Regions from separate parts of the Homo sapiens genome. Here regions 2, 3, 4, 5, 6 and 7 are each linked to region 1. Evidence: promoter capture Hi-C in 16 types of primary human blood cells and fetal thymus (Javierre and others, 2016). All regions are on one chromosome and are shown on one strand. The core of a region is centred on a gene start or on the middle of the fragment in contact, and the rest is flanking DNA. Distances in the headings are between cores, read along the strand shown.

What was found. Contacts are between HindIII fragments. The CHiCAGO score rates a contact against its expected background, and 5 or more counts as called.
Region 2: a contact is called between a fragment that was not itself captured here and the fragment with the promoter of ILF2 in region 1, in 2 of 17 cell types (total B cells and naive B cells). The highest score is 7.3, in total B cells.
Region 3: a contact is called between a fragment that was not itself captured here and the fragment with the promoter of ILF2 in region 1, in 1 of 17 cell types (total B cells). The highest score is 6.0, in total B cells.
Region 4: a contact is called between a fragment that was not itself captured here and the fragment with the promoter of ILF2 in region 1, in 2 of 17 cell types (monocytes and naive B cells). The highest score is 6.2, in monocytes.
Region 5: a contact is called between a fragment that was not itself captured here and the fragment with the promoter of ILF2 in region 1, in 2 of 17 cell types (total B cells and naive B cells). The highest score is 8.2, in total B cells.
Region 6: a fragment that was not itself captured here is called in contact with the fragment with the promoter of ILF2 in region 1 in 2 of 17 cell types (total B cells and activated CD4 T cells); the score reaches 6.4 in total B cells.
Region 7: a fragment that was not itself captured here is called in contact with the fragment with the promoter of ILF2 in region 1 in 1 of 17 cell types (naive B cells); the score reaches 5.4 in naive B cells.

The regions. Positions count from the first base shown.
Region 1 is chr1:153,668,725-153,672,998 of GRCh38, forward strand. It overlaps ILF2 (interleukin enhancer binding factor 2), which reads right to left and starts at 2,269. Exons shown (of 14, transcript NM_004515.4): 1 at 2,194-2,269; 2 at 1,447-1,506; 3 at 1,112-1,154. The coding sequence starts at 2,198. It overlaps TRX-CAT1-1 (tRNA-iMet (anticodon CAT) 1-1), which reads left to right and starts at 2,526; the gene lies at 2,526-2,597. RefSeq lists a silencer at 2,289-2,668 and enhancers at 2,709-2,848, 3,399-3,478, 3,489-3,538. The HindIII fragment of the contact is 12,664 bases long and covers 1-4,274 here.
Region 2 is chr1:154,335,592-154,339,865 of GRCh38, forward strand. ATP8B2 (ATPase phospholipid transporting 8B2) reads left to right here. Exons shown (of 28, transcript NM_001370597.1): 12 at 1,757-1,953. It also overlaps the pseudogene RNU7-57P. Among named protein-coding and RNA genes, the nearest start is that of ATP8B2, 12 kb to the left of the region's middle. The HindIII fragment of the contact is 731 bases long and covers 1,639-2,369 here.
Region 3 is chr1:154,314,406-154,318,679 of GRCh38, forward strand. No RefSeq gene overlaps it. Among named protein-coding and RNA genes, the nearest start is that of AQP10, 4.6 kb to the right of the region's middle. The HindIII fragment of the contact is 2,713 bases long and covers 733-3,445 here.
Region 4 is chr1:154,274,595-154,278,868 of GRCh38, forward strand. HAX1 (HCLS1 associated protein X-1) reads left to right here. Exons shown (of 7, transcript NM_006118.4): 4 at 356-407; 5 at 560-666; 6 at 799-889; 7 at 1,022-1,281. The coding sequence ends at 1,107. Among named protein-coding and RNA genes, the nearest start is that of HAX1, 4.1 kb to the left of the region's middle. The HindIII fragment of the contact is 2,442 bases long and covers 1,171-3,612 here.
Region 5 is chr1:154,257,790-154,262,063 of GRCh38, forward strand. It overlaps UBAP2L (ubiquitin associated protein 2 like), which reads left to right. Exons shown (of 27, transcript NM_014847.4): 21 at 1,188-1,241; 22 at 2,159-2,240; 23 at 3,103-3,320; 24 at 3,803-3,908. It overlaps SNORA58B (small nucleolar RNA, H/ACA box 58B), which reads left to right and starts at 1,938; the gene lies at 1,938-2,073. The HindIII fragment of the contact is 872 bases long and covers 987-1,858 here.
Region 6 is chr1:154,239,233-154,243,506 of GRCh38, forward strand. It overlaps UBAP2L (ubiquitin associated protein 2 like), which reads left to right. Exons shown (of 27, transcript NM_014847.4): 9 at 2,281-2,333; 10 at 3,985-4,070. Among named protein-coding and RNA genes, the nearest start is that of SNORA58B, 18 kb to the right of the region's middle. The HindIII fragment of the contact is 2,081 bases long and covers 896-2,976 here.
Region 7 is chr1:154,205,848-154,210,121 of GRCh38, forward strand. LTAP1 (lipid transport auxiliary protein 1) reads right to left here. Exons shown (of 7, transcript NM_001098616.3): 7 at 873-1,801. The coding sequence ends at 1,606. CFAP141 (cilia and flagella associated protein 141) reads right to left here and starts at 486. Exons shown (of 4, transcript NM_001010979.3): 1 at 428-486. The coding sequence starts at 460. The HindIII fragment of the contact is 1,373 bases long and covers 1,326-2,698 here.

The DNA.
Region 1 (4,274 bases), core at 1,019-3,518:
CCAGCTACTTGGGAGGCTGAGGTGATAGCTGGGCGTGGTGGCTCACACCTGTAATCCCAGCTACTTGGGAGGCTGAGGTGAGAGAATCCCTTGAACACAGGAAGCGAGGTTGCAGTGAGCCAAGATCGCGCCATTGCAACTCCAGCCTGGGCAACAGAGTGAGACCCTGCCTCAAAAAAAAAAATTTATTCAAAGGCCAGGCACAGTGGGTCACGCACACCTGTAATCCCAGCACCGTGGGAGGCTGAGGTGGGCAGATCACTTGAGGTCAGGAGTTCAAGATCAGCCTGGGCAACATGGTGAAACCCCGTCTCTACTAAACAGACATACAAAAATTAGCTGGGCATGGTGGCAGGTGCCTGTAATCCCAACTACTCAGGAGGCTGAGGCAGGAGAATCGTTTGAACCCTGGAGGCAGAGGTCCTGATTCCTCTGCCTCCCAGGTTCAGTGCAGTGAGCCAAGATTGCACCACTGCACTCCAGCCTGGGTGACAGAGTGAGACTGTCTCAAAAAAAATAAAAAGTTCAAACAAGGATAAAAGCTGGAATAGCCATAATTTAAGCTATCACTATCTTTATAGTAACAGATATACCATAAATACAATTACTTGTTCAGAACAAAGATTATAATCATGTTTAATGCCAACAGTAGCCAAGGAATTATTCTCCCCACCATGCTTACACTGTTTCTGTATGTAAAGCAACACACAGTTGACTCAAAACCCCAAATCTTTTCACAAATCACTTTCCCTCCCTATTTCAACCATCTTTTTTTTTTTGTAGTGGTGCCATCTTGGTTCACTGCAACCTCCGCGTCCCGGGTTCAAGCAATTCTCCTGCTTCAGCCTCCCAAGTAGCTGGGATTAGACACATGCCCAGCCAACTTTTTTATTTTTAGTAGAGACGGGGTTTCACCATATTGGCCAGGCTAGTCTCAAACTCCTGACCTTCAGGTAATCCATCTGCCTCGGCCTCCCAAAGTGCTGAGATTACAGGCGTGAGGCACTGTGTCTGCCCTCTTCAACCACCATCTAACTTCATTAACTGGGAGATACTGGGCTCCATTTCAACAGTGACCAGAAAATGTGTATCATTAACCCAAGGTACTCACCAAATAGAAGTCAAATGGGATATGTGGTACAAAGGGCCTGAACCTAAAACATGAAAAACAGCCAAATTATTCCCTAGGTAGGAATCAAGCGAGATGTAAATAACACGCCAACAATTTTGAAAACATGTCAGTCCTCAGAATGAGTGACAAAGTCTCCGGGGAGGGAAAGAATCATTCTTAGCATAGTGGGGCCAAATTCATTTAACAGGAGTGCAGGAAAAGACCACAGTTGGCTCTCGCAAAACCAAGTGACATTAGTCTACTCTAAAACTCCTATTTAGATGACAAGCAGAAACTAACAACCAAGTGCAGAGATGCTAAAAGCTGGTACTCACCCTCCTCCTGGGCCTCCTCTGGAACCAAAGCGCCCACCACGACCACGGCCTCTGTCACCCCTAGAAATGCAGATTTTATTTTGACCTCATTGAAGGAATACCCACCGGCCATATCATCTTAGGTTGGCTACTTTCATCCCTCGGAACCTCCCAACGGTAGGCAAGAGACCCCACTCACACTTACACTTGTCCCCATTCCAAATGGTGCCCAGTTACACCCCCATAACCTCCTCTAAGTTAATCCAACCCCCATCAAGTAATGATGGGGCTCAGTGAGCCCTACACTTAATAACCCATAATCCTGGGCCACACGAATCCTAATACTTCGGAGGCTAAAGATTGCTCATTTCTTCACTAAGGTACACATTTATCGGGCGTGTCCTAATGTCAAGGCCTTCGCACTGAGGATGAATGCGGCTCGCTCCAGCATTCTCAGCCCGGATGACGGGGGCGGGGGAAAGGTGGGGAGCTCCTCCAGGGGCTTGAGGACACCCCCTCATCGCAACCCTTCAGAGACAAAGGTGTCGAACCCCCCTCCCCACTCCTGGGCCCGAACCCCATCCCGGGCCCAAGTTTCCCCGCCTCTACCGGCCTCCATCTCTCCCACTATCCTAGACCAGGAGTTCTCAGGTTTTTGGCCAGCCCCCGGATACATGGCCCTTTCTGATACTCCGACTTCTTTCGGCCCACGTTCACAAAGTTTTCCGTCGAATACCTGAAACCTTTCGACCGCTTCGACCCACTTACCTCATGGCGCCTTAAAACACGAACAATGGAGGCCGCACCAACCGCCCCTTCCTCTGAGTAGCAGACAACTGAAGAGGCGTCTTGCCGGCGTGTCCCAATAAAACCCGGTGCGATTGGCTCCCGCCTTACCCCATCGCTTATGCCTATTGGCTTACTTTGTCAAACCGGGCTTATGAACCAATAAAAAACGCCTACTGTGTCAGGAACTAGCCAATAAGAACTGGTTCTATAGTAATGACGAATTTTTGATCAGACATTAGGTGGCACTAAAGAAGTCAGGACAACGACTACGTAGTGTTCTATAACAATCATGAGAAATTTTAGTTCTAGATAGCAGAGTGGCGCAGCGGAAGCGTGCTGGGCCCATAACCCAGAGGTCGATGGATCGAAACCATCCTCTGCTATCGGAGTTTTTTCATTGCCCTGTACGGCATACGTAATCTACGTTTCTTTAGTGAAGGAAAATATCTTGCCAATTTTCCTACCTCAAAAATGCAACCAATATCAGCTATTTTTGCCACTAGCAGTTGAAGTTGATGGGGAAAAGGGAGTTTAGGCAACTATGAACACTGCACGTCTACAAACTCGAAGCAGGAGAAACAGGTTTTAGATAGGAGAGGAGTATATTGATTGAATTAGTGTGGAAAACATGGTTTTCCATGTCCATGGAAACAGGTGATCCACCCGCCTCAGCTTCCGAAAGTGCTGGGATTACCGGCGTGAGCCACAGCGCCCAGCTTGGTTACATAAATTCTTTAGTGGTGATTTGTGAGATTTTGGTGCACTCATCACCCGAGCAGTATACACTGAACCCAACTTGTAGACTTTTATCCCTCACCTACCTCCCTTCCATAAGTACTTTTTCGATATTTAATTTACTACAGCAGAACGTAAACATCTTAAGTCTAAACGTATTCTGGCCACGTAACCACCATCCAGATTAAAATAAATATTATTAATTTTTAAAAAACAAGCAAACAAAAAGCGGACCGAGTGCGGTGGCTTGTGGCCACCCAGCACTGTGGGAGGCCGAGACGGGTGGATCACCCGAGGTCAGGAGTTCGAGATCAGCCTGGCCAACATGGTGAAACTCCGTCTCTACTAAAAATACAAAAATTAGCCGGCGTGCTGGCGGGCGCCTGTAATTCCAGTTACTCAGGAGGCTGAGGCAGGAGAATCTCTTGAATCCGGGAGGCGGAGGTTGCAGTGAGCTGAGATGGCGCCACTGCACCCCAGCCTGGGCGATAGAGGGAGACTCCGTTTAAAAAAAAAAAAATCTTACTTGAGGTTTGTTGAGCTTCTTGAATCAATGGCTTCAGGTTTGTCGTCCATTTATTAAATTTATCAGCTATTATCTCTTCAAGTATTAGTTTTACCTATTATTTCCCTCGTTCCTGAACTCCAAATAAAGACGGGTTAGACTTTTCCCCCAGTAATCTCTTTGTCTCTTACCCTCTCTTCTATTATTTCATTTTATTTAGACACAGGGTCTCACTCTGTTGCCCAGGCTGGAGTGCAGTGGTGCACCATCATAGCTCACTGCAGCCTCAACCTCCTGGCCTCAAGAGACTCTCCCATTTCGGCCTCCCTAGTAGTTGGGACTACTCAAAGGCACAGGCCACACCACTCCGAGCTAATTTTATTTTTTTTTTTGAGATGGAGTCTCCCAGGCTGCAGTGCAGTGGCGCTATTTCAGCTCACTGCAACCTCCGCCTCCCCGGTTCAAGCGATTCTCCTGCCTCAGCCTCCCGAGTAGCTGGGACTACAGGCGCCCGCCACCACGCCCAGCTAATTTTTTTTTTTTTGTATTTTTAGTAGAGACGGGGTTTCGCGGTGTTAGCGAGGATGGTCACCATCTCTTGATCTAGTGATCTGCCCGCCTCGGCCTCCCAAAGTGCTGGGATTACAGACGTGAGCCACCATGCCCGGCCCTGCCCAGCTAATTTTTGTATTTTTAGTAGACATGGGGTTTCACCATGTTGGCCAGACTGGTCTCAAACTCCTGACCTCAGGTGATCCTCCTGCCTCTGTCTCCTAAAGTGCTGGGATTACAGGTGTGAGCCACCTCCTTTGGCCCCGGG
Region 2 (4,274 bases), core at 754-3,253, 670 kb after region 1:
TGAGGCGGGGGGATTGCTTGGCCTGGGAGATTGAGGCTGCGTTGAGCTAGGATCATGCCACTGCACTCCAGCCTGGGCAACAAAGCAAGACCCTGTTTCAAAAAAGAAATCTACGTTTATGAAGATAAGTTTGTTTCCCAAGTTTAAAAAAAAAAAAGGCAATCTTAGCCAGGTGCAGTGGCTCACGCCTGTAATCCCAGCACTTTGGGAGACCGAGGTGGGTGGATCACGAGGTCAAGAGATCAAGACCATCCTGACCAACATGGTGAAACCCCATCTCTACTAAAAATACAAAAAAATAGCTGGGCGTGGTGGCGGGCACCTGTAGTCCCAGCTACTTGGGAGGTTGAGGCAGGAAAATGGCGTGAACCCGGGAGGTGGAGCTTGCAGCAGTGAGCCGAGGTCGCGCCACTGCACTCCAGCCTGGGCGACAGAGCAAGGCTCCATCTCAAAAAAAAAAAAAAAAGGCCATCTATGTGAGATAGTGAACATTACCGTGGCTTGGCATTTTTGTTGGCTTGTACCTAGCCCAGGTGAATAGATTATTTACAGTAAGTTTTCTGGTATGTTAAAAGTAGCTCATCCCCACTCTTACCAACTTTGAGGACTCTGGAAGGTTTCAAGGTGCCAGATTGAGAGCTAATCAACTATTTCAGTTTCTTCATCATATAGATGAAATAATGGTCAGACAGAAGGCCACATGATAATTGGTGACAGACTAGAACCTGTCACCAGTTCTGAGCTTTTTCCACTAGAGCAGTGGTGTCCAATATTTTGGCATCCCTGGGCCACATTGGAAGAAGAATTGTCTTGGGCCACACATAAAATACACTAACATTAACAATAGCTGATAAGCTTAGAAAAAAAAAATTGCAAAAAAAAATCTCATAAATTTTTTTTTTTTTTTTTTGAGACGGAGTCTCACTCTGTCACTAGGCTGGAGTGTAGTGCAATGGCATTATCTCGGCTCACTGCAACCTCTGCCTCTCGGGTTCACGTGATTCTCCTGCCTCAGCCTCCCTAGTAGCTGGGATTACAGGTGCCCGCCACCACACCCGGCTAATTTTTTTGTATTTTTAGTAGAGATGAGAGATGGGGTTTCACCATGTTGGCCAGACTGGTCTCGAACTCCTGACCTCATGATCTGCCCGCCTTGGCCTCCCAAAGTGCTGGGATTATAGGTGTGAGTCACTGCACCTGGCCTTTTTTTTTTTTTTTTTTGAGACAGGTTCTTGCTCTGTTGCCCAGGCTGGGATGCAGTGGCATGATCTTGGCTCACTGCAATGTCTGCCTCCCGGGTTCAAGCAATTCTCATGCCTTGGACTCCTGAGTAGCTGAGACTACAGGCAAGTGCCACCAGGACTGGCTAATTTTTTTAATGTTTTTAGTAGAGACGGGGTTTCACCGTGTTGGCCAGGCTGGTCTCAAACTCCTGACCTCAGGTGATCCATCCGCCTCAACCTCCCAAAATGCTGGGATTACAGGCTTGAGCCACTGCGCCCAGCCCATAATAGTTTTTTTTTTTTTTATAATTATTTTTCATTTAACATTCAGCTGTTACCAAAATCTCATAGTGTTTTAAGAAAGTTTATGAATCTGTGTTGGGCCACATGTGGCCCAGAGACCATGGGTTGGACAAGCTTGCACTAGAGCATCTGAGCTTTTGAGGGCTCAAGGGATGAATACATCACAGATGCACTTGGTTTTGAGGGCTTCCTACATGTCAGCCTCGCCTGTGCTTCTCATTCCTCCCCAGATTTTTGGATTCCTGGTTTGCATGGGGGTGATCCTGGCCATTGGCAATGCCATCTGGGAGCACGAGGTGGGGATGCGTTTCCAGGTCTACCTGCCGTGGGATGAGGCAGTGGACAGTGCCTTCTTCTCTGGCTTCCTCTCCTTCTGGTCCTACATCATCATCCTCAACACCGTTGTGCCCATTTCACTCTATGTCAGGTATGTGCCTTCTCTGACCTGGGGTCTCTCCAGGGAGTCAGGCGGTCCCATAGAACTTTTCTTTTCTATGAAGATGAAGTCCTTGAGAAGTAACGAGAAGTCCTCTTCTTCCTGTACTGTAAACATTTGATGTTATCTGTTTATCTTTGTGGGCAGAGCAAACTTTTTACCACAGTTTCCTGGTACTTGGGACTGTATTAGAGAAAAAAAAATATTGATTTATTCAGCACCTATTTATTACATGCCTACTGTGTACAAAGAAGTGTGCTAGGTGCCATCACAAATAAAAGATGAATTAGGAATGGATCTCCTTCCTTCTAGGAGCTTACGTCTAGTAAAGGAAGGAAAATCTAAACACATTATAAAACAAAATAGGAACCAGTGCTGTAGAATTCGACCTAGAGTCTTCTATGTGAAGCTTGGGGATACAGAGATGTATAAGGTGGCCTCTGCCTTTAGCAGCAGCAGATGGATAGGTCGAGGAGGGGAGATCTGGACAGTGTCAGACTGAGATACCATGTGGGAGGCACAGGGTGCCCGGGGACTGGGAGAGTGTCGCTCCCTAAGCAGGTAGGCAGAGAGGGAGAGATGGCATTTGCTCTGGGCTTTGAGTGGTGACTGGGCTGGATGAAGGTGGAGCCACAATGGAGAGGAGGCTGAGAGGGCTGGAAGCAAAGGTGTGGAGATGGGAGCCTGGGAATGGCCTATGGAAATAGTTGGCCAGGGTCTTGGGCCAAGAGCAAGAGCTGGAAACATAGCTTGCTCCTGATTGTGGAGGCTTTTGAATATTTGCCTGTGGACTTTGTATTTACTAACCATTAAAAGTTATTGAAAAGACTGGGCACGGTGGCTCACACCTGTAATCCCAGCACTTTGGGAAGCCAAGGTGGGCGGATAACGAGGTCAGGAATTCGAGACCAGCCTGGCCAACATGTTGAAACCCCGTCTCTACTAAAAATACAAAAATTAGCCAGGTGTGGTGGTGGTTGCCTGTAATCCCAGCTACTTGGGAGGCTAAGGTAGGAGAATCGCTTGAAACCGGAAGGTGGAGGTAGCAGTGAGCCAAGATCACGCCACTGCACTCTAGCCTGGGCAACGAGCGAAACTGTGTCTCAAAAAACAACGAAACAAACAAACAAACAAAAAAGTTTTTGAAGAAAGTCAAAAGAATGTATTCTGTATTCTAAAAATGCATTCTAAGTGTTACAGCTCTTTTAGAATTTGTCTAGCAGGTTTTCCAGTTTTCACTGGAACCCCTCCCCCACAAAAAGAAAAAAATGCATTCTAAAAAAAAACTAAAGAATGCTTTAGGAAGTATTGACTGGCAGTAGTGTACAGCATGAATAGGATCAAGGCAACATGTAGGATGTTTGAGGTAAAGAGAATGTTAGCAGGGACAGGCCAGTGAGAATGAAGGGGAGGATCGGAGGAAGACGAGGCAGGAGGAATGGCCAGGGGAAAGGAACTTTCTTGCTTAGTGCCTTGCACTTGAGATAAGGGAACCTGTGACATTTTTAAGGAAATGTTTTATGGAGGTGCTGAAAACTTGTCCTGTCTCCCATCTTTTGTTCATACAGATTCCCCAAATAGCCCTCAACTCTCTCCCAGCCCCCAATCTTACTGCTGGTGATAATAAATAGAAGATACAGCATTTCTGTGCTGAGAGAATATAGTTTAGGCTTTTCCAGGGTGTGAAGAGGAGAGTTGGGAGGTTCTGGGTTTAGTCCTGCCTCCTCACTGGCCATGTGACCTCAGGAAAATCCACGGTCACTCAGGGCCTCACTTGATCTTAGTTTTCCCACGTGAAACAGGAACAGGAGTACTTGTCTCACCTTTTAATAGGATGTCTTGATATAAGATATTGGCTTAGAAGATACATTTTAAACTTAAGTGACTGTACAGTTACTGGGTGGTAGCCTGCTCATTGTGACTGTTGCCACTCCCTTCTGCATTACTATTTAAATGCCTTTGTGCTTACAACCTAATTTTGTTTTCCCACCTATGGGCTTTGCTATCTGTGTTTTGTATCTCAGTTCACTTGAAGCCCTTGGGAGCAGCTAAAGCAGTTTTCTTTCTGAGTCTCATCAGGTCACAGTGTGTATGTTTCGGGAGGCTAAGAGGGGGTTGAAGAGCTGTGTGAGGAAAAGGCCCTTTGGAATGTGAAGACATTCCCATTTGCCTGGTAATGGGATCCTGATAGGTGCCTTAGTCAGGTGGGAAGCAGGGCTCTCGATAGGGCCCCATTGCTCGGCTGCACTGGACCTAAACATGGCCCTTTCTGGAAATGCTAACAGTGCATATGATTAGCAAAGAAGAGGATA
Region 3 (4,274 bases), core at 839-3,338, 650 kb after region 1:
GCTATATGGTCTAAAAGGGGGAGGCATGAATAATCCACCCCTTGTTTAACATGTAATCAAGATACAACCATAAAAATAGGCAACCAGTGGCCCTCGGGGCTGCTCTGTCTGTGGAATAGCCATTCTTTTATTCCTTTACTTTCCTAATAAACTTGCTTTCACTTTACTGTATGGACTCGCCCTGAATTCTTTCTTGCATGAGCTCCAAATGCTTTCACATTTCATCCTATTTGTTTTTGTTGTTGTTGTTGTTGTTTTTGTTGTTTTTTTTTTTTGAGACACAGTTTCGCTTTTGTTGCCCAGGCTAGAGTGCAATGGCGCAATCTCAGCTCACTGCCACCTCCGCCTCCCAGTTCAATCGATTCTCCTGCCTTAGCCTCCTGAGTGGCTGGGACTACAGGCATGTGCCACCATGCCCGGCTAATTTTGTATTTTTAGCAGAGATGAGGTTTCTCCATGTTGGTCAGACTGGTCTCGAACTCCCGACCTCAGGTGATCCGCCCACCTCAGCCTCCCAAAGTGCTGGGATTACAGGCATGAGCCACCATGCCCGGCCTCCTTCTTGTCTTGTATGTCCTTAGCAGCTTGACCTTGTAACCATGTGGCCATGCTTTCTCTTTTCATAATGGCAGCCCTGGTTTAAAGTCCAATTCCCAGTTTAGGGGATGATCCTTATCTTCTGTCTGTCTGTGTATTTATATGTATTATGTGTGTAATGTTTATATATGGAAAAGCTTTAATTAATTGGTTTAACAATAAGAATTGCTTAAATCAAACATTTTATCAGAAAAGTAAAAAGTGGAATACCCTTTATTTAGTTCATGTGACTTAAGTAATCTTTGGGAAATAAATACAGTTTTAAAGATTATTGGTAAAATAAAAAATCTTCAAAAATGTAAACATTTTGTCCGGGTGCGGTGGCTCATGCTTGTAATCTCAGCACTTTGGGAGGCCAAGGCGGGCAGATCATTTGAGCTCAGGATTTCGAGACCAGCCTGGCCAACATGGTGAAACCCCATCTCTACTAAAAATACAAAAATTAGGTGTAGTGGTGCAAGCCTGTAGTCCCAGCTACTTGGGAGGCTGAGGGAGGAGAATTGCTTGAACCCGGGAGGCAGAGGCTGCAGTGAGCCGAGATTGAGCGACTGCACTCCAGCCTGGGTGATGGAGCGAGACTCTGACTAAAAAGAAACAAACAAACAAACAAAAAAAAATGTAAACATTTGGTCTAAATTATACAGGTCAGATATTAAGTTTGCTAAATTCTTTAAGGTCATAAGCTGCTTCTTTGACTATTAAAAATTGTTCAATTTTAGGCTGGGTGCAGTAGCTCACGCCTGTAATTCCAGCACTTTGGGAGGCTGAGGCAGGCAGATCACAAGGTCAGGAGTTCAAGACTAACCTGGCCAACATGGTGAAACCCCATCTCTACTAAAAATACCAAAAAATTAGCCAGGCATGGTGGTGCGCACCTGTAATTCCAGCTACTCAGGAGGCTGAGGCAGTAGAATCACTTGAACCCAGGAGGCAGAGGTTGCAGTGAGCCGAGATCATGCCATTGCACTCCAGCCTGGGCAACAGAGGGAGACTCTGTCTTAAAAAAACAAAAAAACCCAAAAAACAAAAAACAACAACAACAAAAAAAATTGTTCAGTTTATCTACTTTGGAGCATTAGATTAAATGTGTTATTGGTACATGTTCCAAAATTATGAGAAATTCCTATAATTCTAATATGACTTAGCGTATGTTATTAATAATTGTTACATAAAATTTTGTATGCAACAGAAGTAACCAAAATTTCCTAGTTAATTGTGGCTTTACTAGTGGCTGTCCTAAGACTTTTTTTTTTTTTTTTTTGAGACAGATTCTTGCTCTGTCACCCAGGCTGGAGTGCAGTGGCACGATCTCAGCTCACTGCAACCTCTGCCTCCTGGGTTCAAGCACTTCCTCTGCTTCAGCCTCCTGAGTAGCTGGGATTATGGGCACCTGCCCTATGCGGCTAATTTTTGGATTTTTGGTGGTGACGGGGTTTCACCATGTTGGCCAGGCTGGTCTCAAACTCCTGACCTCAAATGTTCCACCTGCCTCCGCCTCCCAAAGTGCTGGGATTACAGATGTGAACCACTGCACCTGGCCCTAAGACTTTTTATCATCCACAGACAATTGTTGTCTTGTTTTGATCTTCTTTAGAAGGTAGTTTATAATCAGCCATAGGACTTTAACAGGTGCACTTAAATGCAGGTTTCTGATAACTTTGGAGATTGTGACATTAGAATAGAGGAAACAACTTTCAGAACTCTCATGGGGAGCTGAAATGTTCATAGATATCAAACAAAAGTTAACTGCATAAACTAAAGAAGACTAAAGCAATCTTTTTGCCTTTGCTTAAAACATTGCTGATCCTTTGTTTTATTTTTTAGAGTCAAGGCAACTTTTCTTTTCAGATATTTACAGCTTTTAATAATCGAGTAAAGTATACTCCTGTGAACAAAATTTGGAGTATATGCATCTCTCTACTTGATTTCTCCAGAATTTGGAAATTATTTGTGTGTATTCTTAATTTATGGCAATGCAGTTATTTGCATAAGGGTAATAAGAATCTGTTTTCTTTTGCAACAGGACACAATTGGAGAAATTGTTTATTTTATGAAGGGTTTGACTGGAATGGTGTGCTTTCCATTAAGGAATCAAACTTGACTTGTAAAGCCTATAAAAGCCACTTAGCGACCTGGGCTCATAACCTTGCCTACACAGTCCCTGTACAGGGTTTCTGACCTGTGGTAAGTAAAGAATGTCACCTTCTAAAAGGTCCAGGAGCCCCAAGTTATCTGGGGACCTCAAAAGGAGAGGAAGAATTTACCCAACTCAAAGGTATTTGAGGGCACAAACCCATGGCAGGGCTCAGCTTTAAAAAGTCTTATCCAAGATTCTTTCTATGGAACAGAGTTCCATCAAAGCCAATTTTAAAAGCCTACGTGAAAAATAATTATTCTTGCTGCACTTTATACAATCATCAGGCCAAGTATAATAAAGCACATTGGTCTTACCATAAAAATGGTCTTTCATAAAAATGGGAAACTGGAGAGAGAAAAATTATGTTTCAAGAACTATGATACACTTGTTATTAAATTCCAGTCTCATCAGTTGTCTTTAAGTTTGTTTCTGCAATTTAGGCTAACCCTGCTTAGTCCTGTGAACCAACCAGTGGCCTCTGACTGCTGCTCAGAAGAAACAAGAGGGATGGGTAATGTAAAAATCTGCATCAATATTCTAATTCTGGGCATGTACTGGAATCATCTAGCAACCTCATATCAGCGTGGTTCCAACAGTTCCTCAGTTCATGGAAAGCCTTCTAGTTTAGTTTACTTGGGATAATTTTACTTATTTTGCTTTATGGTTGTGGAATGTATAGCTGTTGTAATCTTTGTATAGGAATGGAGGACAAGCTTACTGAATGTTTCCTTAAACTGAACACTTATGAATCTTCCAGAGTATCACCTTTTGTCAGAACTCATGAGTTATGAATGGCCCTCAAGATACCAATGCTTTTTCTTCCCTTCCCTTCCCTTCCCTTCTTTTCTTTTCTTTCAGATGGAGTTTCATTCTTTCAGGCTGGAGTGCAATGGCACAGTCTTGGCTCACTGCAACCTCCGCCTCCCAGGTTCAAGAGATTCTCCTGCCTCAGCCTCCTGAGTAGCTAGGGTTACAGGCACCCGCCACCACATCTGGCTATTTTTTTTGTATTTTTTAGTAGAGACAGTGTTGCACCATGTTGGCCAGGCTGGTCTGAACTCCTGACCTCAGGTGATCCGCCTGCCTCAGCCTCCCAAAGTGTTGGGATTACAGGCATGAGCCATCCCGCCTGGCCCATACCAACACTTTCCAACTGAGCTCCTCTCTACCACGAATATGAGAGATTCTAAGAGTTAGGCAAAAATATCATCGCCCCTATTCATCCTGAAGAACTTACAGAAGATGGACCTTCGTCCCTCTGCAACCCTTAGGATTAGTGCTTCTCTTATAAAAGGAAGGGGGGAAATGTCAGAGGCACGTGAACCAGAGCAAGTCTATTTTGAACAAGAGCTGAGTAAAATGAGAATGAGACTTACTGGGCTGCATTCCCAGATGGTTAAAGCATTCTAAGTTACAGAATGAGATAGGAGGTTGCCATAAGATACAGGTCATGGCCGGGCATGGTGGCTCATGCCATGACAGTTTATAAATGCCATGACAATGACAGGAAGTTACCCTATATGGTCTAAAAAGGGGAGGC
Region 4 (4,274 bases), core at 1,142-3,641, 610 kb after region 1:
AAGCCCTCCATTTAGTGTTTTCTGTTTTCTATATTAAGCTTGTGGGATTTTCTTTGGGGGGAGATGGGTGTTCTGTTTCTTTTAAAAAACAAAAACAAAAAAACACCACTGGTCTAGATAATTCTTGGATAAGGCAGGATTGTGCACAGAGGATAGGAATATATCAGTTCAGGAAGTCTTTCTGGTAGAAGGATACATAAAACAGCCAGGAAGGAGTGTGTAAATAAGGCTATTCTGAATGGAATTATCTCTTCTGTGGAAGGGGGTTTTGGAGCTCGGGAGTAGTTTGAGGTCTATGACCTTTCAAATTTCAGATTGGAAGGAGTCTTTTCACTTACTATGGTTTCTTCTGCAGTTTGATGATGTATGGCCTATGGACCCCCATCCTAGAACCAGAGAGGACAATGGTAAGTCTGGAGGAAGGGGAAGTTTACCAGCCTTTTGTTATTCTTCTGAAGTTCTGTGTGTTCTCCCTCCCTGAAGTTTCTTCCTGTACACTTGTCTCCTTTTTTCCTTTGGACTCTTTCTCTCCTGCTTCTTCATCTCTCTGCTCTTCCAGATCTTGATTCCCAGGTTTCCCAGGAGGGTCTTGGCCCGGTTCTACAGCCCCAGCCCAAATCCTATTTCAAGAGCATCTCTGTGACCAAGATCACTAAACCAGATGGGGTGAGTTGAAAGAAAGAGGTAAAGGAAAGTATGGCCAGGGAACGAATGCCCTGAAACAGGGATCTGTGTAAAGAAACTGCTGAGCATAACCTTTAGTAACATTCGGAATATGGTGGGGACTTCTCTTTGTAGATAGTGGAGGAGCGCCGGACTGTGGTGGACAGTGAGGGCCGGACAGAGACTACAGTAACCCGACACGAAGCAGATAGCAGTCCTAGGGGTGGTAAGTTAAAAGACAAAGGGGTTCATCTCAAGATTCCTTGGGGAAGGGAAATCTTACTCTTCTACCCTTGTCCTTTGCTTCTGCCTAGTCTCTTTCATTTAGCCTATTTACGTGTATGACTTTCTTCCTTAGATCCAGAATCACCAAGACCTCCAGCCCTGGATGATGCCTTTTCCATCCTGGACTTATTCCTGGGACGTTGGTTCCGGTCCCGGTAGCCTTGTTAACCCTCAGAGGCCTTCAAGTCCTTTCCACCTCTCACCCATTGCCCACCATTAATAAGCTTAGCTTCTCTTGCCACCTCAGGGGCTTGGATATGTGGAATAGTGAACTGGGGCCATGTCAGTTTGTCACTCACCCAAACTGACCAATAAAACCTTTATTTATGCTAATTTTTTGTCTTGGTTTTGTCAAGGCTATTTCAGTTTCTAGAACCATCCAACACTTCCGAAATTATCTTGGTCCTCTGCCTTCTCCTTATTCCTTAATTTTTTATTCTGCATCTAAAACCTGATTTCATAAGTAAGGGTCAGGCACAAGTAGAAAATGATTTTTCTTTCTCAAGCAAGAAAAAAAAAAAAAGAGGCCGGGCTCGTTGGCTCATGCCTGTAATCCCAGCACTTTGGGAGGCTGAGACAGGCAGATAACCTGAGGTCAGGAGTTCAAGACCAGCCTGGCCAATGTGGTGAAACTCTGTCTCTACTAAAAATACAAAAATTAGCTGGGCATGGTGGCGGGTGCCTGTAATCCCAGGCTAGGGCAGGAGAATCGCTTGAACCTGGTAGGAGGAGGTTGCAATGAGCCGAGATCACGCCATTGCACTCCAGCGTGGGCGACAAGAGTGAAACTCCATCTCAAAAAAAAAAAAAAAAAAAAAAAAGAAAAGAAAAGAAAAAGAAAAATGATTTTTCTTACTGAGGAGATGACTAGAAATAATTTCAGGAAAATTTCTAGAGAGGGATACATCAGATTCCCAAAAAAAGGGTGTGGGTGTGGAAGTAGGGGTTAACTGCTTCCCTGAGTGTGGGATCACTGACTGGAGAGTTCATGAAGTAACTGGGGAAGCACATGGGTAAATTTCCCTTACTTTACTGGCCTTAAAAAGTTGTTATGTGGCTGGGTGTGGTGGCTCACGCCTGTAATCCCAGCACTTTGGGAGGCCGAGGCAGATGGATCACATGAAGTCAGGAGTTCGAGATTAGCCTGACCAATACGGTGAAACCCTGTCTCTACTAAAAATACAAAAATTAGCCAGATGTGGTGGCACATGTTTGTAATCCCAGCTACTTGGGAGGCTGAGGTAGGAGAATTGCTGGAACTCAGGAGGTGGAGGTTGCAGTGAGCCATGATCATGCCATTGCACTCCAGCTTGAGCAACAAGAACGAAATTCCATCTCAAAAAATTGTTATGTATGTTAGAGAAAATACACCTGGCACAAACGTTACTAGGTCCTTTTTTCTTTTTGAGGCAGGGTCTCATTCTGTCACACAGGCTGGAGTGTAGGGGGCGATGTTGGCCCACTGTAGCCTCGACCTGGGCTCAGTCCTCCCACCTCAGCCTCCTGAGTAGCTGGGACTACAGGCGTACACCACCATGCCTAGCTAATTTTTTTTCTCGTTTTTTTTCCTTTTATTATTATTATTATTTTGTATTTTTTGTAGAGACGGAGTTTTGCCATGTTGCCCAGGCTTCCTTTTCTCATTATAAAAGTTTTTAACCAGGTGTGTTAGACTGTACCTATCATCCTAGCTACTTGGGAGGCTGAGATAGGAGGATTACTTGAGCCCAGGAGGCGGAGGCAACATAGCAAGATCCTATTTCTAAAATATATATATATATATATATATATTTTTTTTTTTTTTTTTTTTTTTGAGATGGACTCTCGCTTTGTCACCCAGGCTGGAGTGCAGTGGCGCAATCTCGGCTCACTGCAACCTCTGCCTCCCGCGTTCAAGTGATTCTCCTGCCTCAGCCTCCCGAGTAGCTGGGACTACAGGCACGTGCTACCACGCCCAGCTAATTTTTGTATTTTTAGTAGAGACAGGGTTTCACCATGTTGGCCAAGCTGGTCTCGATCTCTTGACCTTGTGATCCGCCTGCCTCAGCCTCCCAAAGTGCTGGGATTACAGGCGTAAGCCACCACGCCCCGCAAAATATTTTTTAAAAATTGGCTGAGCAGGCTGGGCATCGTTGCTCACACCTATAATCCCAGCACTTTGGGAGGCTGAGGCGGGTGGATCACTTGAGGTCAGGAGTTCAAGCAGGCTGGGCACTGTGGTTCACACTTGTAATCCCAACACTTTGGGAGGCCAAGGTGGGCAGATCACTTGACGTCAGGAGTTCGAGACCAGCCTGGCCAACATGGTGAAACCCCAACTCTACTAAAAATACAAAAATCAGCTGGGTGTGGTAGTGCACACTTGTAATCCCAGCTACTTAGGAGGCTGAGGCGGGAGGATCATTTGAACCCAGGGGGTGGAAGTTGCAGTGAGCTGAGATTGTGCTGCTGCACTCCAGCCTGGTTGACAGAGCGAGACTCCATCTCAAAAAACATAAATAAATAAATTAGCTGAGCATGGTGGCCCACATCTGTAGTCTCAGCTATTCAGGAGGCTAAAACAGGAGGATCCCTGGAGGCTGGAGTTCGAGGCTGCGGTGATCTATGATCACACCACTGCATTCCAGCCTGGGCGACAGAGTGAGACCCAATCACAACAACAAAAGCTTTTAGTACTGTGGTTAAGAGGGGCAAATCTGGGGCCAGTCACAGTGGCTCACACCTGTAATCTCAGCACTTTGGGAAGCTGAGCGGAGAGGATCAATTGAGACCAGCCTGGGCAACATAGGGAAACCCTGTCTCTACAAAAAAATTTAAAAATTAGCTGGGCATGGTGGTGCATGCCTGTAGTCCCAGCTACTCAGGGGTCTGAGGTGGGACGTTGTCGAGCCCATGAGGTCAAGGATGCAGTGAGCCATGACCATGCTGCTGCACTCCAGCCTGGGCAACAAAGTGAGACTGTCTCAAAAAAAAAGGCCGAGAGTGGTGGCTCGCGCCTGTAATCCCAGTACTTTGGGAGGCCAAGATGGGCGGATAACTTGCTGTCTCTGCTAAAAATACAAAAATTAGCCAGGCAAGGTAGTACGGGCCTGTAATCTCAGCTACTCGGAAGGCTGAGGCATGAGAATCACTTGAACCCGGGAGGCAGAGGTTGCAGTGAGCCGAGATTGCACCATACACTCCAGCCTGGGTAACAGAGCAAGACTCCGTCTCAAAATATAAAATAAAAAATAAATATTTAAAAAAAAAAAGAGTGGTGGCCGGGCATGGTGGCTCACGCCTGTAATCCCAGCACTTTGGGAGGCTGAGGCGGGTGGATAGCCTGA
Region 5 (4,274 bases), core at 173-2,672, 590 kb after region 1:
TGTGTATCTGCTTTGGTTTATGGTGCACACATGTATGCATGTGTGTGTGTGCGTACAATGTGTATGTATATGTGTGATGAGAATATCTGCCCTGTTTGAAACACAGCTTCTGGGCCTCAGAAGCCAAAGGCCAGAATGTTCATCTGGAATCCTTTTTGGTTTCTTAGATAATTATGACTATTATTTTATTTTTTGAGGCAGATCTTGCTCTTTTACCCAGGTTGGAGTACAGTGGAACGATCATAGCTAGCTCACTGCAGCCTTGAACTCCTGGGCTCAAGCAATCCTCTCACCTCAGACTCCCCAAGTAGCTAGGACTACAGGTGTGCATCCCCATGCCTGGCTAAGTTTTAAAAATTTTTTTAGAGACAGGGTCTTCCTATGTTGCCTAGGCTGGTCTCAAAATCCCAGGTTCAGACAGTCCTCCTGCCTCAGCCTCTCAAATAACTGGGGTTATATATAGGCCTGAGCCACTACTCCTGGCCCCAAGAATTATTTTCTCTGATTTGATTAAATCCCTAACTCTGAGTGTGTTTGCTGGTCTGGCCTGGTTAGAGGAAAGTTTCCTGACTCAATCTGGGACTTTGAGAATAAGTGGCTGACATTAGTAGCTTTTTGCCCTAGTGTATCTTCTGTGACCTTCAAGTATTTGGTACCTATTAAGATGAAGGATATATGGAAACGTTTTAGAAGATACCTGTTCCTGCCCTCATAGACAAAGTCTAGATAAATTTCATACCGATGACACATCCAAATAACACAGTTACACATTTTTAATTTGTGGTCACTACCTTAAAACCCTGACATTGGAGAAAAGTGAAGTATTCTTTCCAGAGGAGATTATTTTTAAGCCAGATTTTGAAGAGTATAAGAGACAGAGACTTGTAGAATAGAGAGTAAAACTGGTTGTTCGTGTATGTTTTGTGTCTACTCTATTGGTATCAAGAAGCCAGCCTACTAGAATCAGTAGTATTTAGCTCAAGGAAAGCTTCAAGACCTTTCATGAATCATTTAATCTCTGTGTACTTTACTGCTTTTTCCTTAAATAAAATTGAAGGAAATAATCCGTGTCCTGTTCTAACCCAGAATGAGGATGAATGTTCTGTTGAATTAGCTTGTCTCTTGGCTCCTTGTTTTGCTAACATCATGACCAGTTCCTGTTATTGCTATATGTCTGTATCTTTCAGCCACAAGTATATGGTTATGATGACTTGCAGATGCTTCAGACAAGATTTCCATTGGTGAGTATGTGGGATAGAGCTTTGGAAAAGAAAGTAGTCTTAAAATTAGTGTTGGGAGAATTATCTCCGTCACAGACATAGCTCTTTCCCATCCCAGCCCTCCATACACTCTGATTTAAGGCATATTAGAATATAGGGATTTGGGGGAGGGTTTCCAACAGAAGATAACTTTTTTTTTTGAGACAGAGTCTTTCTCTGTCGCTCAAGCTGGAGTGCAGTGGTGTGATCTTGGCTCATTGCAACCTCCGCCGCCTGGGTTAAAGCAATTGTCTGCCTCAGCCTTCCGAGTAGCTGGGATTAAAGGTGCCCACCACCACCCCCAGCTAATTTTTTTTGTATTTTTAGTAGAGGCGGGGTTTCACCATCTTGGCCAAGCTGGTCTTGAACTCCTGACCTTATGATCCACCCGCCTCTGCCTCCCTAAGTGCTGAGCTTATAGGCATGAGCCGCCGCACCCAGCCTTTTTTTTTTCTTTTTTTAAATCAGAGTTGTGGCATCTTAGTAAATACATTTTAACCTATTCTATAGCCCAGTAAAGTACTCTGGAGCACTCAGGGTGCTTTCTGTTTGTCCCAGACACTTTAAATTATCGAATGATCTGTTTTCTCAGTAGAATAAGCTTGGTATAAACTGATAGGGATGACACCTAGAGGGTTGAAAATATTGGTCCTCGTGGACTTTGATGTATTCTCAAGTGGGCATACCCGTAGACCTTGTCTGACTGTGCTCATGGCCAGGCAGGGGGGACAGTGTATGCAAGAGTAATGTGGAGTTTGTGCTAACTCTAGCCAGCTTAATTAGTGACTGGATAAATTGCACAACTCTCACATTCTTCTGTTTTTTCCTCCGTGGAAATAGTACTCATGCTGGGGAATGAGTGACATTGAATCTCTGCTCTTTTTTCCCCTCTTTTCTAGGATTACTACAGCATCCCATTTCCCACACCCACTACTCCGCTGACTGGGAGGGATGGTAGCCTGGCCAGCAACCCTTATTCTGGTAGGATTGGGATGGGACTAAATAAATAAAAAGGGAGATAGTGTTGGGATTGATGGCAGACACCTGATTGGTAGCAAGAAGGGATGTGATAAATCAGGATTGGTAGATTCAAAATCCTGCTAAAGTTGGGCATGTCATGGCTTTTCCTATTCATCCCACTTTGTGTTGTCTCCCTGTGATTTCTAGATGATATCTTAGCCAGGCATGGTAGCACACACTTGTAGTCTCAGCTACTTGGGAGGCCAAGGTGGGAGAATTGCTTGAGCCCAGGAGTTCAAGACCAGCCTGGGCAACATAGCAAGACCCCATCTCCAAAAAAAGTGATATCTTGACTTAGTTTCAAGCCATTTGCTAGCTTTTTCCAGGAAATACAGTGGTTGAGGTGGTCTTCTCTGCTCATCTCTGCCCCTTTATGCTACTACTCACAGTGGCAATCTCACTGCCTTGCCACTCCTTCTTTTACCTGACCTATCATTGTCCTCATTGACTTACCGTTTTCCCTGATCCATCGTTGTCCTTCAAGTCCAGCATGGGGTATTCCCCATGGAGGAGAAGAGGGGAGGGAAGAAGAGGGAAGATGAAAGAGAACACAAGTGGGCAGAGAAATTGTGCAGGTGCCTTATTCCAAGAGCCTCCTGCCATAGCATTGCACAGTTATTCAACATTAGTCCTTGACTTGCAGCAACTGTGCTAAGTGTATGCTGAGCAACAATAATTGGAGCCACTAAGAAATGTAATTCAAGGAATTGAACTTTAATAGTCTTTGAACAGGATCTCCTGGAATCATGTGAAATCAGAAGAGGTAATTCTGTATTGGTATTGGGGTGAAAGAGGCAGGTACATTTAGCTTCTCCTGTCACAGGTGACCTCACAAAGTTCGGCCGTGGGGATGCCTCCTCCCCAGCCCCGGCCACAACCTTGGCCCAACCCCAACAGAACCAGACGCAGACTCACCATACCACGCAGCAGACATTCCTGAACCCGGCGCTGCCTCCTGGCTACAGTTACACCAGCCTGCCATACTATACAGGGGTCCCGGGCCTCCCCAGCACCTTCCAGTATGGGCCTGCTGTGTTCCCTGTGAGTACCTGGCTTTGGTCACTCCTTGTGGTGAAGGATCCTAGCCCTGGACACTATCCTAGCTGCTTTTAAGGGTCAATGACTTTAATAATGGATGAGGAGGAACAGTTTCCACCTCTGGCCTGTTTTTGGCCTGATGCAGGGTGGTGGGGGAATGGGGCTGGAATTGGTGGAATTAGGATAGGGATTGCCTAGTCTTAGAATTTGCCAAAGGGAGAATATGATACCATACAGCTTTGCTTCACTCAGATTCATTCATTCCCTGCTGCCATTGTCCCTTTTTCTTCCTCCAAACTACCATTTCTTGACTTCATTAGTAGATTCTAGAACAGTTAGTAAGGAGCTAATTTCACTAAGCAAACTGTAGTCAACTTGCATCAGGATAGGTAGCCATCTGAATGGCCAGTACCTGGAGCAGGACAAGTGGGACAGATGGTATTCTGCTGCCAAGTCACTGCAAATCTGGCCTTTTTGCTCTTTAGGTGGCTCCTACCTCTTCCAAGCAGCATGGTGTGAATGTCAGTGTGAATGCATCGGCCACCCCTTTCCAACAGCCGAGTGGATATGGGTCTCATGGATACAACACTGGTAAGCTGACCTTGTCTCTGGCTCGGTGTTATCTGTGGGGTGTTATTGGATAAATTTCAGGGAGGAAGACTTGGTGCTTGAGAAAATGGGATTGGTGAGGGTGTGCCGCTGCCCCAGGTATGATTGTTAATGCTTGGCTGACTTGGGTATCTGTGGGAGCAGCACCAACAGAGGAGCTTGATACTAGGACATGTGTCCACTATTTGTGACGGGAATGCCCAAGAGTATGTGTTGGTTTTTAGAATATGTTGGTTGGCCAAAAGTGTGGGTGGAAGTAGGGCAAGGAGCCCCAAGATTTTGCTGAAATGTCAGTGGAGGCAAGTGTTAATAGTATGTATGGCACTGATAGTACAAAAGGGGGGTGTA
Region 6 (4,274 bases), core at 686-3,185, 570 kb after region 1:
TTCTTTTCTTTTCTTTTTTTTTTGTTTCAGGACTTGATTTCATTGGGGTTGAGGGGTCAAATTATCCCCCAAAATTATCCCCCAGACTGCTCCTGGTATGATACATCCAGGTGCCTAACTGCCCCAGATATTTTTGTAGATTTTTATGAGCTGAAATATCTGTGGATATGTCATTTTTATGTCTTTCTGCTTTTTCTCTTTCTGCCTTTTTCTCTCATTTTTCTGTGTCCACTTACCTTTCTGTTCATTTAATGAATATTTGACAGTTACACTGATTGCTTTCTGCTAATGGAATGGAAACCCTAGTCTGTTGTTTAGAGCATTTCCATCTATTCTGTTCCTTAATGCTTCCTCAGCTCTCTCTCTTCCTCAGCCATGACCGTATATCCTGAATAGGAACATACCAGTTAGGTGTCTACGTTCCTCCTTTCCATCCCAGTTGAAGTCATCAGTGTGCAGAAAAAAATTCTTGCATCAAGAGCCTAGATTAAATAACCTGTTAGATCATGTCTAACTCTAGGATTGTGTATAAGTGCTAATGCAACTTGGATTCCATCGAGCCAGGATAAGATGGATGTCAATGAGAAGAAAGTGTGGTATCAATGAAGGAGAAAAGAATGTGGTTTGTAACTTGTCTGTACTGAGATTGGACTTTGGTTTTGAGAATATTGTCATTATTAAGTGGTTTAGGATTTCCCTGGTGCAATTTTAATATTTTCCTGGGAAAGTCTTTACAATGAATATATTTTCCTCTAAGAAAGAAGATTTTTGCATTATTAAATGTTTAGAAGAATTTTAGATGGGCTTTGTATTAGAATACTTCTAATGTGGTGTTAGAATACTTCTCTTCAGTGGCACAGCATCTGAATGTCAGACTTTTCATTTCATTCTTATAAGCTTTTTTCCAGTAGGAGGGAAGGATTGAAGAGTTATTTAATATATATTATTCTAGCAAGAAAATAAGGGTGCTCTTGTCCCTTCTTCAGACAGGTTCTTGTTTTTACTGTGCCTTTGGCTGAAGGGAAGAATCCTGGTTCTTGTTAGAAATTCTCACCCTTATTTTTTAAGAAAGGACATTTTTTTTTTTCTGAAAATATATGTATACATGAAGCACAAAAAAGGAATGTGGAAGGTGGTTTGATTGCTTTTGGATTTCTCCAGTAGAAACTGTATCCCAGCTTCCGTATTACCAACAAACACAAGGACAGTGTATACTCCCGTTGTCTGTGCCATGACCATAGCAGGTCAGGTTTCAAGTTCTATATGAGTAAGGTTAGGACAGTAACTATCATTCATACCTGATTTTTCAGTCTTGTTCATTGTCTTTTGAAGAGGACAGCTCTATAGGGGCTTTTCTTATACAGTTAAACCAATAAGATCTATAAACTTGACTTCTGCTGAGTATGCATTTTTAATCTAATTCTCATAGCAGATAGTTTTCAATGCCCTCAGTTCGGGTTTCAAACCCACCCTTCTTCACTGCTCTTTCACTAACCATTATGTGGTAACCATTTGTGTTTCTCTATCAGTGCTACTATCCTTCTTCAGACTGCCTACAGTATTTTTTGTCTTATACTAGATAAATAGGTGTAGTTTGCATGTTATGGTTTAAATTGGCTGCTGCCATTTCACTGAATTGACCACTAAATCAACCTGAGGACCTTAAAGATACTGCTTTGAGCATTGGGTGGTTGTCTGTCTGTCCCCCCCCCCACCCCCATTCCTGCTTTGTAACAAAAACTGAAAGTAGCTATGAAATCATAATCTTATTAAAACCCTGGTACTCTGAGATATCCTTTTCTAAAGAGTGTTTCCTTACCTTTGAAGCCCAAGAATTTCTTTTTTTTTGTTTTGTTTTTTGTTTTTGTTTGTTTTGAGACAGTTTCACTCTTGTTGCCCAGGCTGGAGTGCAATGCCGCGATCTCAGCTCACTGCAACCTCCACCTCCCAGGTTCAAGCCATTCTTCTGCCTCAGCCTCCCGCGTAGCTGGGATTACAGGCATGTGCCACCACGCCCAGCTAATTTTGTATTTTTAGTAGAGACAGGGTTTCTCCATGTTGGTCAGGCTGGTCTCGAACTCCCGACCTCAAGTGATCCACCCACCTCGGCCTCTCAAAGTATTAGGATTATAGGTGTGAGCCACCACACCTGGCCTTCTGATTACTAAATTTTAGTCATACTTTTGGCTGCCAAAAAAATTAATACATTGATGTTTTCTATACATGCTTTGTACTGGCATTTAATAGTGAAGTTACTTCACTATTTTTCTTTATTCTCAGGTGCATGGAGGACTGCAACAGAGGAGTGGGGGACTGAAGATTGGAATGAAGATGTAGGTATTCCCAGGTCATTCCTCACTAATGCCTTCTATCCCTAAGTGTTGTTTAGGGATAGAAAATGGGTATGTTTCTACCCCTCAAAATTCACCCTTAAGATTCTGACCCAAAACTTTTACATCCAAAATAGTGTTCTGAGCCAGAACATTTCACATATGTTATATGAAGGAGACTGGGCATGAACAGGACTCTGTGGAACCACACTATGGAAAGGGCAAGTGCACTTGTGTAAGTCCAATATCTGATTGTCGGATTTATCCCAGGAAGAGATTGGTGGTTGGGTAGGGCACCAGAAGTGGAGTTAGGCAGGTAGTGCATTGAGTAACAGCTGCTGGTGGTACATGACTACTTGGTGCATTTAAGTATTTGCTATAAGGTCCTGTAATGGATTGGCAGTGGATCCAAAGCGAGTGTTGTGGTACCAAATCCTCAAACTTGTAATCTGGTTGACTCTGGAACCCTTGTATTTATTTGAAGCCCAACTGTATAATTGTGATTGAGATGAATATCTGTAGAATTGGCTATCTGCCAGCTTGACTTAACTTGGAAACCTCATAGATGGGTGGCACGTAAACAAGCTCTGTGAATTCATTTGAGTACTACCTGAGTAAGAATTTTGCTGATTCCTGGTCACAGTCAAGCTTCTGCTGTGAATTATGGTTTTCAGTGATCATGGATAAACTCTTGTTTTAACATTTTTAATCTATGTACTTTTCTATACTTTCATGTAGTTAGGCAAGACAGCTTTTGTGATAAGAGGAAATGACATGTGAAGACTGTTTTGGTTGCCAATTCTGGGTTTTTTAAATTTCAGAGGCATCAGCATCACAGGGTGATTATTTTCTATTGTATAATCAATGAACTAGACTGCTTTGTGAAAATGGGCAAATTATGTTCCTTTCTGAGATTTGGCTTGTCCGCTTAAGCAACTTTCAGAGAATGATAAATGGTGTTGGGCATTGAGGGGAGAGTGGATTTTCTGTGCTTTAGCGATTTTAATCAAGAAATAAAACTGAAACCCAAATCAACTTTTGAATAGTAGGAAAAGTTAATCCCTGCATTTGCTTACCTAAGTTTGATGCCTTAATAGTGGAAGGACTAGATGTCACAAAGTCAAATATTAAGGCAAAAATAACATCTAGTTAAAACGATCTCCCATAAAAACCTTAATTCAGCAGCACTTGGGCCCTTACTGCTCAAAAGCTAAAAATGAACTTCTTTTATTTATTTCTTCATCTTGGTTATGATCTTTCTTTGGGAGGGGTGGGGCTGTGAAGGGAGTAGTAGAAGACAAATGTGGTTTGGGAAGAGGTGGGAGTTGGGAACTGTAATGGGAAAATATAGAGGGATTTTCTTTCTTTTATTTTTTTTTTTTTATGTCTAGCATGCCTGTAAGTTCAGTATGCATATGATCATGTGACTCCACTATATTTTATTGGGTTCCTTGCTTCTACTCTTTCTTTGGCTAAAACTATTGAGCATATATTGAAGGGCTTGAAAGTCAATCCATTCAGGATTCCTCAGGGTAGATAGTTTTCTCTTTATAGGGCTTTCACTTTTTCTTGATGTTGAATTCCCCTTACCTATGCCAAGTTTCTGACTGTAGCATCCCTGACACCAAGAGTGACTAATCCCTCTGTTTTCCAGCTTTCTGAGACCAAGATCTTCACTGCCTCTAATGTGTCTTCAGTGCCTCTGCCTGCGGAGAATGTGACAATCACTGCTGGTCAGAGGCAAGTGTGCAGTAAAATTTAGTACCATTTCTTAAACACATCTGCTGAGATTACTGTAAAGAGAAGTGGCACTGGCCTTTGTAAACTCCCATGGTGTCAATAATAATAACCAAATTACATTACATCATTACATTCCTCTTAAGTTGATGGAGAGACTTCTTTTTTTTTTTGTTTTTGAGACAGAGTCTCACTGTATCGGCCAGG
Region 7 (4,274 bases), core at 762-3,261, 540 kb after region 1:
AATGCACCACCATGCCGGGCTAATTTTGTATTTTTAGTAGAGATGGGGTTTCTCCATGTTGGTCAGGCTAGTCTCGAACTCCTGACCTCAGGTGATCCGCCCACCTCAGCCTCCCAAAGTGATAGGATTACAGGCGTGAGTCACCGCACCCAGCCACATAGACCTTTTTGAGAAAGCAATTTCCTGGGGGGAAATAGGGAGAGGAAAGCTCTACTTTCAGAATGGATCAAAGAAAACACGCAGGGGTTGGATAGAACACATATTTGAATACCTACTGTGTACTAGACACAGCCTCCCACTCCTGTTACTAACTACATTATACCCTTGTTACATCAAAAGCCTTTCCCAGTAAAAGATGCACTTATAGTAAATTGATCTGGAAACTTCATCAAACTTCAACCCAGCCCCTCCTTCCAACTCTGCATACCTCTTCTACTTTTGTCATCTTTTCCACAGACATGTCTATAGATTTGCTTGATACAGTCTGAGGAGACTGACAGGCTCCTCTGTTTAGTTCAGTAACCAAGGTTTCAGTAGTCATAGTAACATTTACACCTCCAACAATAACCCTGGGCCTAGGAGTTGATTGGCCACCTGGCCTGTTGCCCCAGAAACCTTGAGAGAATCCTTGTTCTGCAGCCTTCTGTTGGTGACACAGGCATCTATGAGCAAGGGCCACAGTCCTGATTTTAGGATTTCTTGTGCTAGGGTCCCAAGGAGTATGTGTATGGTCGTAGGTCCAGGGTATGCACACAGTCCCACCAATTCTCTGGAGGCAAATCCTCATGCCCTATACCCTGTTAGAAATGTGCAGATAACATTATCAAATGCCTGTTTTATTAAAAGACAACTATAAAGGACTGATTCATACGTTTTATTTGATAATAGTTCATTTTATTAAATAATTTATAAAGTCAGACCAGTGCATTGGGCTTGTTAGGGGAAACCATTCCTTCCTACTGTCACATAGCCTGGCAGATTATATCAGGTGCCAAAACATTCCCTTTTATTCAATTTATTAATGAGAGTGTGGAATTAAAGTAGATCCTTGCATGTCAGGAAAGCTGCAACACATCTGGTTTAAGTGGAGCACAAAGGTAAGTTATTCCACATTCACCAACTTCCCCACTTGACCTCCCACCAGTTCCTGTCTGCTTTTTCCATCAATCAACTCTAAGATGCCCTAAACCCAAACAGTTCCCATTCAACTGTGCACAAAGGTATAGATATGGAAGACATCTCACTCCAACTCTCACCTTTGGAATTAAATAAACCTGGAACAGGGAAGGTGAACTATGGCTGAAACCAAGTGAAGATTTTTAAGAAGCTTTGACAGAAACATTAAGAATAACACCTGAATGCAAATCCAGAAAAAAGCGCTACTGGGGGAAAATAGTCTTAGCCAATGTTCTAAAAATGCTCATAAGGAAGGGTTGGGGAATTACCCTTTAGACACAAGCTCTAAGAACTCTGGATACAACGGGAACTTGGATGGATACAGTCTGGGCCTGCTGGGCCAGATGTTCCGAGGGCGGCCCGGCAAGCAGCCTGTCTTGCACATTGCAACTGACTGGCTTAATCTACGGCAAGAGTCCTTCAGCTCCGTCACAGAGTACTCTCCAATGTGTTATAGTTATCCTTAAAGCTCTTCAATTCAAGGAAGTGCTTGGCACGTTTACTCTTCTGACTGGAGGGGAGGTATGTCACCTGGATGGTTGTTGGGGAGACCTCAGGGGACTGAGTTAGGTCTTTGGCTGCTGACTGGTGATGTCGCTGAGAGCTCCCAATTCGTGCTTTAACCCTGAAGAACAGAGAGGGGAGGTCATTGACAGAATGAGGACTAATCAAAGAAATCAGGGCTTATCCCAGGCCATAAATGCAGCAATAGTCACAAATAGTTATTTGTGTCCTATCTGTCCTATTTTGTAAACTAGTTACTAAAACCCCATCTAGTAGCTTAGAAATACAAGAGGCTGAGCGCGGTGGCTCACGCCTGTAATCCCAGCACTTTGGGAGGCCCAGGCAGGTGGATTGTTTGAGGTCAGGAGTTCGAGACCAGCCTGGCCAACATGGTGAAACCCTGTCTCTACTAAAAATACAAAAATTAGCTGGGAGTGGTGGCGGGTGCCTGTAATCCCAGCTACTCGGGAGGCTGAGGCAAGAGAATCACTTGAACCCAGGAGGCAGAGGTTGCAAGCCAAGATTGCGCCACTGCACTTCAGCCTGGGTGACAGAGCAAGACTCCATCTCAAAAAAAAAAAAAGTAGCAGAGAGGCTGGGCATGGTCACTTATACCTGTAATCCCAGCACTTCAGGAGGCAGAGGCCAGAGATCGCTTGAGCCCAGGGGAGTTTGAGACCAGTCTGGGAAACAAAGTGAGACCCTATCTCTGCAAAAAATTAGCCAGGTATGGTGGCAAGCACCTGTAGTCCTGGTTCCTCAGGAGGCTGAGGCAGGAGGATCGCTTGAACCCAGAATTCGAGGCTGCAGTGAGCCATGAATGTGCCACTGCACTCCAGTCTGGGCGACAGACTGAGACCCTGTCTCTCTCTCTCACACACACCCTAAAAAAGTAGCAGCACTCCAGCCTGGGTGACAGAATAAAGGCCCTGTTTGGGTACCCTGACACACACCTACTCATACCAAAAACAACTAGCAGCAGAGAAACCAATTTCCCAGAGTTCTTGCCTCTGGCTCAAGCTTTTTTTTCAGAGACAGGTATCCCCAATATAGGTATCACCTTGTTTTGCAGATTAGGAAACTAAGGGTCCAATAATTAGCTTGTATGAGGTCACAAAACTAGTTAAGTGACAGACCTGGGATTCAAACCTAAGTTTGTCAGATTTCAAAGCCTATACTCTTCACTAAACCCAATGAACATTCCTAGAAACTACAAATCAAACATAATTTTTTGTTTTTGAGATGGAGTCTTTTTCTCTGTTGCTCAGGCTGGAGTGCAGTGGCACAATCTTGGCTCACTGCAACCTCTGCCTCCTAGGTTGAAGCGACCTGTCTCGGCCTCCCGAGTAGCTGGGGATTGCAGGTGCATACCACAATGCCCAGCCAATTTTTCTATTTTTAGTAGAGACAGGGTTTCACCATGTTGGCCAGGCTGGTCTTGAACTCCTGACCTCAGGTGATCCACCCGCCTCAGCCTCCCAAAGTGCTGGGATTACAGCCGTGAGCCACCATGCCTGGCCTTCAGAAATAATTTTTAAAAAGATTGTGGTAAAATACATGTAACATAAAATTTACCATCTTAAGAATTTTTAAATGTATGGTTCAGTAGTGTTAAGTATATTCACAGTGTTGTGCAACCAACCTCCACATTTTCATCTTGCAAAACTGAAACTATACCCAGTGAACAACTCCCTATTTCCCCCACTCTCCAGCCCCTGCAACCATCATTCTACTTTCTGTCTCTGAGTTTGACTACCTAGGTATCTCATATAACTGGAATCATCTAGTATTTATCTTTCAAAGAAAGTGAATTTTGAACAGGCTTCTGCTGACTTCTAGACCAAATGCCCTTTTCCAGCCTTTCTACATGTTCATTTTCATCAGTGCTCTAAGCAGTTTTTTTTTTTTTTTTTTTTGAGACAGTGTCTCACTCTGTTGCCCAGGTTAGAGGGCAGTGGCATGATCTTGGCTCACTGCAACCTCTGCCTCCCAGGCACAAGTGGTACACGCACCTCAGCTCCTGAGTAGCTGGGACTACAGGTAGGTGGTCGCCACCACTCCCAGCTAATTTTTTTTCGAGATGGAGTCTTGCTCTGTTGCCCAGGCTGGAGTGCAGTGGCGCGATCTTGGCTCACTGCAAGCTCCGCCTCCTGGGTTCATGCCATTCTCCTGCCCCAGCCTCCCACGTAGCTGGGACTACAGGCACCCGCCACCACGCCCGGCTAATTTTTTTTTTTTTGTATTTTTAGTAGAGACTGGTTTTCACGTTAGCCAGGATGTTCCCGCTCTCCTGATTTCATGAACCGCCCGCCTCGGCCTCTCCAAGTGTTGGGATTACAGGCGTGAGCCACCACACCTGGCCTAATTTTTTTATTTTTAGTAGAGACAGGGTTACACTATGATGCCCAGGTTGGTCTCAATCTCCTGGGCTCAAGTAATCCACCCATCTCAGCCTCCCAAAGTGTTGGGATTACAAGTACGAACCACTGCAGCTGGCCTTCTAAGCAGTTTTTACTAGGACCTTTCATCTTTTCGAGACAGACTCTTGCTCTGTCACCCACGCTGGAGTGGCACAATCTCGGCTCACTGCAACC